Linked DNA regions of Homo sapiens: regions 1 and 2 are each linked to region 3. Evidence: promoter capture Hi-C in 16 types of primary human blood cells and fetal thymus (Javierre and others, 2016). All regions are on one chromosome and are shown on one strand. Each heading gives the region's core, a stretch centred on a gene start or on the middle of the fragment in contact. The rest is flanking DNA. Distances are from core to core; before and after follow the strand shown.

Region 1 (2,700 bases), core at 93-2,592, 3.2 Mb after region 3:
ACCATGTTAGCCAGACTGGTCTCAAACTCCTGACCTCAGATGATCCACCCGCCTTGGCCTCCGCAAGTGTTGGGATCACAGGCATGAGCCACCATGCCCGATTTTTTTTTTTTTTTTTTTTTGAGACAAGATCTCACTCTGTTGCCCGGACTGGAGTGCAGTGGTGCGATCACAGGTCACTGCAGCCTCCATTACCCAGGCTCAAGTGATTGTCCTACCTCAGCCTCCTCAGTAGCTGGGACTACTACTACAGGTGCGAGCGCCACACCCGGCTAATTTTTGTATTTTTTGTAGAGATGGGTTTTCACCATATTGCCCAGGCTTGTCTCAAACTCTTGAGCTCGAGTGATCTGCCTGCTTTGGCCTCCTAAAGTGCTGGGATTATAGGCATGAGCCACAGCACCCAGCCACTTTTTACCTTTTTTAAGTGATGTAAAAAACACGTGAAGTTTACCTTCTTAATTATTTTTAAGTGTACAGTTTAGTAGTGTTAAGTATATTCGCATGGTTGTGCAACAAATGTCCAGAATTTTTTCATCTTGCAAAACTGAAACTATGCCGTTTGAATACCTACTCCCCATTTCCCCCTCCCCTGTTCAATGATGAGTTGTTCCACCATTCAACTTTCCTGTTTTTAAGAATTTGACTACTTTAGATACCCAATAAGTCGATTTGTATAGTATTTGTCCTTTTATGACTGGCTTATTTTATTCAGTCTAATGTCCTCACAGTTCATCCATGTTGTAGTATGTGTCAGAATTATCTTCCCTTTTTTTTTTTTTTTGAGACACAGTCTCGCTCTGTCACCCAGGCTGGAGTGGAGTGGCGCGATCTCGGCTCACTGCAAGCTCTGCCTTCCGGGTTCACGCTATTCTCCTGCCTCAGCCTCCTGAGTAGCTGGGACAACAGGTGCCCCCCACCACGCCTGGCTAATTTTTTTTGTATTTTTAGTAGAGACGGGGTTTCACCGTGTTAGCCAAGATGGTCTCGATCTCCTGACCTTGTGATTTGCCTGCCTCGGCCTCCAAAAGTGCTAGGATTACAGGCGTGAGCCACCGCGCCCGGCCAGAATTACCTTACTTTTAAAGACAGTACCTTTCCATTGTGTGTGTATACTGCATTTATCCATCTATCTGTTGATGGACATCTGGATTGCTTTCACCTTTTGGCTGTTGTGAATAATGCTGTTATGAATATGGGTGTACAATGCTTTTTGCTTTTTTGTGAAGCTGTGAAGCTTTGCTAAATCGTGTGTGTTTGTTACTGAGGAAAATCGTTACATGAGGTAGAAAACTTTAGCTGATTATCTCTGCCTTTCTCCTTGCTAGTTAAATGTATAATCTTATGTAAGTTACACGACCTCCCCATCAGTCTTTTGGGCCTCCTTATGTAAGAGAGGAAAACACATTAACAAAGTCGTAGTTAAAGCAGCTGAAATAATGTATATTAAAGCTTTTTTTTTTTTTTTTTTTTTTTGAGATGGAGTTTCACTGTTTTCACCCAGGCTGGAGAGCAATGGCATGATCTTGCCTCATTGCAACCTCTGCCTCCCAGGTTCAAGCAGTTCTCCTGCCTCAGCCTCCTGAGTAGCTGGGATTACAGGCGCCCGCAGAGACGGTGTTTCACCCTGTTAGCCAGGATGGTCTCGATCTCCTGACCTCATGATCTGCCCGCCTCGGCCTCCCAAAGTGTTGGGATTACAGGCGTGAGCCACTGCGCCCAGCTAATTTTTGTATTTCTAGTAGAGATGGGGTTTCACCATGTTGGCCAGGCTGGTCTTGAACTCCTGACCTCAGATGATCCGCCTGCCTCAGCCTCCCAAAGTGCTGGGATTACAGCCATGAGCCACTGTGCCTGGACTTAAAGCTCTTTTGAAATTATTAAAGTGTAAGGAGGCCAGTGACTGCTTATTTAATAAGTTTTCCTTCAATTACATTATTTGCTGTTAGAACTTCTGATTTTTTTGACTTTGTTCTTTTGATGAGATATCTTTAAAACAATCTTTGTAATATTAGATGTTGGTATCATGAATTCATCAACTGCAATGTCCAAATTTTTTATTTTAAAAACAAATAGTAACTTTAATGTTGAAAGAATGAGATGATAGAAGAGAAGCTTGGATTTTACTACATGATGAGTGATTTCCTGATTATAGTTTTTAGACTATACAGATTAGTGAAAGTATCTACAAAATAGCTCTTGTTTTGAAAGGAGCTTGTTAAAAATCAAGAAAATAGACATTTTGAATAACAATCTATGATTGTAACTCTTGGTTTATCTCCAAAGAGTGGAAGAATGTGAGTCACTGAAGGAGTTAAGTGCCTGGTGTTAACCTTGAGAGGGCTTATGGTAGAAGTGAAAGAAGTTGCCAGTTCCTTTCAGATGCTGCAGTTCTAGGCTCTACCCATTACATTTCCCCAGCTACAGATAGAGCTGTAATAGTGATTTGATATGTGGCAACAAAACAGTATTATTTATCTTCTTAAAAGGTAGTTGCTTTTTGAAAGAAATCATGTTTTATTTTATGATCCAGAGGAACTTAGGGATGTTTGTCTTCTAGGCTCATCAACAGAGCAGACGAGCAGACCGTTTATTAGCTGCAGGCAAATACGAAGAGGCTATTTCTTGTCACAAAAAGGCTGCAGGTGAGTATTCTTATTAAGTACTCAGTGTAAAACTGAAGAGCAGAAAGTCACAATA
Region 2 (2,700 bases), core at 87-2,586, 3.6 Mb after region 3:
AAAGAACCTAACCCAAGAGTAGAAAGTAGCTTCTGAGCTTGTTTCTTAAATAATGAAATATTACCCAATTTATTGACTGAGAACTGAAAATAATTTAGGATAATCTGTTGTGTCCTTTGATTGTCTTCCATGCAAGTCAGAGTATTTCCTAAACATATTATTTAGCAGTGCCTCATATCACCCTTGAAAGGCAAGAGACAGACTACAGTATTATTACCCCCTTTTTATCACAGGGAAACTGAGGAACAAGAAGACAAAATTACAGTATGGTCACAAAAGCCATCATATTTTCTAGGACTTTAATTAAAGGCTCCAAGCCTACATTTCATCTTTTATTCTTCGCACCATCTGAATACTAGAATTATCTTTTACTATCGTCTTAACTGGAAAAAATAAAAATATCTAAACTTTAACATCATTTTCTCAATTTGGTACTGTCACAAAAAAAAAAAAAAAACAGTTTTAAAAGTCTGCCCTTGAAATGATATTTGCAAGAACAGCAAGGTGTAAGCAGTAACCCAACCTCCAAAAAATACAGTTGTAAATCTTACAGCTGTAATATAGTTGTAAATCTTAAGACAGGTCAGGAATCCTAGACCCAGCCTTTACTTTGAACATCTGGCAGGCCTCAGGGAAATAATGGAGATTCGTGTCTGTAAACAGTCTTTGCAGATGCTCTGATGAAAAGGTGCCCTAAGAGGCCCAGAACAGTGGTATCACTGCACCCACTACTGCAAACATGAAATCCTCCTCTGTCCCTCCCTGCATTGCACCACGAGACTCGTGGCACACACGGAGGCCTGTGCAAGAACCTCTCGACGATTCCTTTAAAATGTGGTAATATAAGGACGCCTTTGGTGCTGGGCCTCCGTAAACACTGAGGATACCGGATGTGGCCAGGCACACCTCAAAGTCTTGGCTCTCCAAAACCAGGGCCTGGTCGAGAGTTTTATTGGACACCGAGTTCCTGCGAATATCTCACTTTTCACACAGGCACTGCCAATCCCTACCCTCCAGTACCCTTCCTCAGCCTCCTGCCCCACTCTCGCCGCGAGTGTGGGCGTCCCAAAGAGCTAAGGAGGGTAAGGTTGGTTAGAGCGCAGGGGCCAAGGCCGCGGCAGCGAGGCCGTCCAGCGCGGGCTAGGATCCCGCCAGCCCAGCCCTGGAGCCCGGCCGCCTGGCCCCAGCCCTGGCCCGGGCCAACGCGCCGCCGCCACCGCCTATCAGCGGAGCGCAGGGGCGGGGTGCTGTCCGGACTAGGCTGCCGGGCCGGCGGGCGGGGGCGGGCGGGGACGGGCGGGGGACCGACCTCTGCGCAGCCCAGGCCGCCGCGCGCACACACCGGGCCCGGCTCCTGAGGGCGCCAGCGCGGCCCCGGGGAGCGCGAGGAGCCGGCGAAGCGCGCGGCCTGCCGTTGGCGGCCTGGTCCGCAGCGCCCTGCGCCCACCCGCCCCGGACGTGGGGCCCAAGCCCCCGTGAAGATGGTGTCCTGGATGATCTCCAGAGCCGTGGTGTAAGTGCCTCTCACTGCGCCCTGCAGCCGGCGCGAGGCCCAGGGGAGCTGTGGGAAGGGGAAGGAGCCGAGAGGAAAGGGAAGGCCTGGGCCTGGGCGGGGACGGGGTAGCCCGGCCTCGGGCCTGCCGAGGGTCTGGGGGAGCCCTCGGCTTCCTCACCTTGGTCCACGTCGCTGCGGAGCTCCCTGCGACGGCCGAGGGCCTAGCTGCGGCGACTGCGGCTGCGACGGCGGCGGCGGCTGTGGCGCTGCTCGGCTGCGTGCGGTGCGGCGCGGCGCCCCTGCTCCGGCGGCGCTGGGTGGGCAGGCGCTCAGGGCAGGCGGCGCGCGCTCCCCGCTCCTGCTCCCCGCGCAGCGCGGCACCGCCCTGCGGGCCCGGGAGCGGCGCGCCTCGCAGCTGCTCCCTGCGCAGGCTCCGCAGACGCCGAGCGCGGGAGGCTCCGCGATCCTCCCGAGGATGCGACGGCAGTGCCGAGCCTTTGTATCCCGCGGCTGATGCGTTGCGGTGTCTCTCTTGGCGGCTGATTGCCATTCGGTCACGTGTGGTAGGAGGAGAGATTTGTCTAAAAACCGGAGACCGCTCCCAGCCCAGGATCCCTGGGAAGGGTCCTAGTTTTCCCAAGATTTGCAGCTTACCGAGAAAGGTGACACCGGCTGCTCGCCCAGATCCCCGAATTCGGCCCTGTCTCGGCGGAAATATTTGCTAAGTGATTGAAAGGCTGCAGGTGCCTGTTGCCTTTGTTCAAATTATGGGTTCATTTCATTGTTCTCCTACCAACAAGTGCTACAGGTCTGTAAGAAAAAGAAATTCCTTGAGTTGGTGGTGTTAATCGTGTAAATGTATTTGAATACAGTTTAAACTGATTTTCTCTCATCTCCATTTTACCCCTCTCCCCGATTAAAAAAAAAGTCACCAAGTAAACAATGACGTAGTTACAGCTAGGGCCTATGAATTCATTATTCACCTCTGTAGTAGTGTTATCTCAGAAGGTTTCATAAAGGTATATGAAAAAATGTTTATGTGAGGGGGCAGGCTTCTCTGATAAGCTTTAGAATTTAGGAAAAATAACATTACCAGACTTTTTGTTAAAAGGAGCTAGATTTTCTGAGTTTGGGGTTTATTTTGTTTGGAAGTGAATTACTAGCCCTATTTAATCAGATTTGCAGCACAGCATTCAAAATTTTTC
Region 3 (2,700 bases), core at 94-2,593:
AGGGGCCTTTCTAAACGCCTGCCACACCAGGAGAGAGACCTACAGACCCAAGCTTACCCGTTTCTGGGCAGCCTCCAGGGGACAGGTAGAAACAGAACAGATGGCCTGTTCTCCAGTATCTAGACTCAGAAGCAAGATACTTCTAACCACTCCACGAATGAAGCAAACACACGTACCTCTGGCTCAGCCAGGGAGTCACAGTCACTACCCTTCCCCTGGTTTCGGCCCCAGCCCTGTCCAGGCGTGGATGCTGCACTCTCCTCGCTGTAAACCGTCCACCCTCCCAACCCAAAGCAAAGAGCTTCCAACAGAGGTGGGAGCATTAGCGCCGTACCCGCCCTTCCCTCTCGATCCCGGCCAGAAAACTCCACTTCCCGGATTCCCGGCCACTCTCTCCCGCCCCCTCCCCGGGCGATCCAGCTAGCGCAGTCCAGATGCCAGCTTAGTGCCCAGTCCAGCTGCGAACCCCCACACTCCGAGCCAGGACCCAGTAAGAGATCCCAGCTTCCTCCCTCTTCCAGGACTGGGGTTCCCCAGATTCTGGACGCACCCCTCAAACATGCTAGGGCTGAAAAAAGTCCTACCCCGCCCCCCAGCCACGCCGCCAGCCTCCAGCCCAGCCCCGGAGGGGCCTCCTCTCCAGAGGCTAAAAGGGACCATGAATGGTTGCCACAGTAGCCTTCCCCCGCACCGCGCAAGGGTCCTCAGACCCCCGAGGAGGACAGACCCGCGTGGCCCCGAAGGGATACCTCCCTCTCCTCCCGGAAGCCAGCAGGTCCCCGCAGGGAGTGTGCTCTCAGAGGGTCCCCGGGAATCTGGGGAAGACTTGGGGGGTGGCTGGATTCGGGTGCAGCCCCTCCCGGGGCGGGCGGAGGTCGGCGCTGCGGCGCGTCCCCGGGGGGCACTCACGATGGTCACGCTGGCTTTGCGCAGGTCGCGGTTCTCCTCCTGCAGTGCCTTGCACTTCAGTTTGTAGGTCTCCAGCTCTATCTTCAGCACCTTGTTCTCTTGCTGCAGCGAGGCCAGGCGGTTGGTGAGCTCCTCCAGGCGGAACGGCGAGATGACAATGCCCCCCGACTTCCCACCGCCGCCGCCTCCCCCGCCGCCACCGCCGCCGCCCGAGGTCGACGAGCAGGACGACTGCATGGCGGCCGAGCTGCTGCTGTTGCCCCCCGCCCCGTCCGTGTCGCTCTCGCTGGCGCTGTCCGCCATGGCCGCGGCGGGCTGGGGAAAGGAGGAGGAGCAGCAGGGAGGCGGCGGCGACGAAGGCCGGGCTGCGAATGAGTGGGCGCCGGGCGAGCACAGGGGAGCGCCGAGCTGAGCGCCTGGCACCAGGGCGCAGACTCGGAGCGGCGGCGAGAGAAAGAGAGGGCGCTTCCCGCTGCCAAGGGACCTCCTCTGCCAGAGAACAGAGACCCCGCCCGGGCTTGGGCAGTATTGCACTGGGGCTCGCTCCAGCCGGGCTGGGCGCGCTCCCTAGGCCGCCCAGCAAAGCTGGCTGAAAGCTCCGGGACCCGCCCGCCGCCGTCTGGTGACCACGGGCGGGCTGGGAACGCGCAGGCACTGCGGGTGCGGGAAAGCCAAGGACTGCCCCCGCACCACCAGCTCGCCAGCCACACGTGTTCCAAGGGAGGGCCTCCGAGCCCCCTGATCTAAGCCCACGGCCGCCCAGCCTCTTCCGGGCTCGCGCCCGCCCCGAGAAAAAGGAAACCTGATGCCCCACCAGCCTCGCAGGTGCCGGGGACACGTGGAAAGGTCAGCCGGGCTCCGGCACCCATCCTCTACCGTGTTGTGGCCCCATCTTCCGCCGACTGTGTGTGCGCGTGTCTCCCTCTATCTGTTTCACACATACACGCAGTTTTATATTCTCAAAAGCAAGGTGTTTTTGACTAGGAAGGCTTGGATAAACCTAAGAGAACAAAGTTCCTCTACAAGAGGCCGAGGAGGATGAAACAACAGCAGCCACAGGTTAACCTTGTTAAGTAAGAATTTGCAGGAGAGACACACATCTCCTTTAATAACCTCATAAACCACACTGCGCTCAATTGTTTAAACAAGGTGCAACTGTTTTTTTCTTTTTCTCTTTGCATTTTGCAAACATTTCCAGCACATGTCTCGTAGTAGGATTAAGACAGTAACATTTACCTAATGAAGAAAAAAAAAAAGGAAGGCGAAACACTTTTAGTAGAAGATTGAAACACCTCTTTAAGTGCCAATTTTCCAAAGTAACTGCGGACATAACATTATGCTATACAAATAGTAATGATTGAGTGGGAGTGCAACATCACCCGTCTTTGCTATCCTCTTGCTCACTCCTAGAAAACTTTAGCATGTAAAAATAAAACAGTAATTACTGTAATGCGGTCTAATTCATGGTTCTAGCTTTGCAGTTTAAGAAATTAAAAATCAAAAACTTTTATTCCCCCTTCCTCTTCCCAAAGAAAGGCTTGCAGGAAATTGGCCCAGCAGGTGAGATGATTCTAAACACTTTGCCCTGTTGACACAAAACAGCTTTCACTTATGTATAAAAATTGGAAAGTGAAACTGACCAGACTAGTTTTATTACCCACGCTTAGTTAACATTACAACAAACACATGGTAATAGAAAATAGAAAAAAAAGTGTAATTTTTTTTTCTGTTGGGTTGAACTTTCTGAAAGATTTCTAAAGTGTTAGGAAGAAAGAAGAATGATTCTTATTC

The links. The method cuts DNA at HindIII sites, captures the fragments that hold promoters and counts their contacts. A CHiCAGO score of 5 or more calls a contact.
Region 1: a contact is called between a fragment that was not itself captured here and the fragment with the promoter of CCDC6 in region 3, in 1 of 17 cell types (activated CD4 T cells). The highest score is 5.8, in activated CD4 T cells.
Region 2: the fragment with the promoter of REEP3 here is called in contact with the fragment with the promoter of CCDC6 in region 3 in 2 of 17 cell types (fetal thymus and non-activated CD4 T cells); the score reaches 8.2 in fetal thymus.

What each region holds. Positions count from the first base shown.
Region 1 is chr10:63,143,649-63,146,348 of GRCh38, forward strand. NRBF2 (nuclear receptor binding factor 2) reads left to right here. Exons shown (of 4, transcript NM_030759.5): 2 at 2,561-2,645. Among named protein-coding and RNA genes, the nearest start is that of NRBF2, 12 kb to the left of the region's middle. The HindIII fragment of the contact is 215 bases long and covers 1,236-1,450 here.
Region 2 is chr10:63,520,065-63,522,764 of GRCh38, forward strand. REEP3 (receptor accessory protein 3) reads left to right here and starts at 1,337. Exons shown (of 8, transcript NM_001001330.3): 1 at 1,337-1,513. The coding sequence starts at 1,482. It also overlaps a transcript of JMJD1C not described here. RefSeq lists an enhancer at 533-582 and a silencer at 973-2,022. The HindIII fragment of the contact is 3,716 bases long and covers 1-2,558 here.
Region 3 is chr10:59,905,213-59,907,912 of GRCh38, forward strand. CCDC6 (coiled-coil domain containing 6) reads right to left here and starts at 1,344. Exons shown (of 9, transcript NM_005436.5): 1 at 910-1,344. The coding sequence starts at 1,212. RefSeq lists an enhancer at 57-286 and silencers at 807-1,086, 1,117-1,456, 1,639-1,933. The HindIII fragment of the contact is 3,234 bases long and covers 51-2,700 here.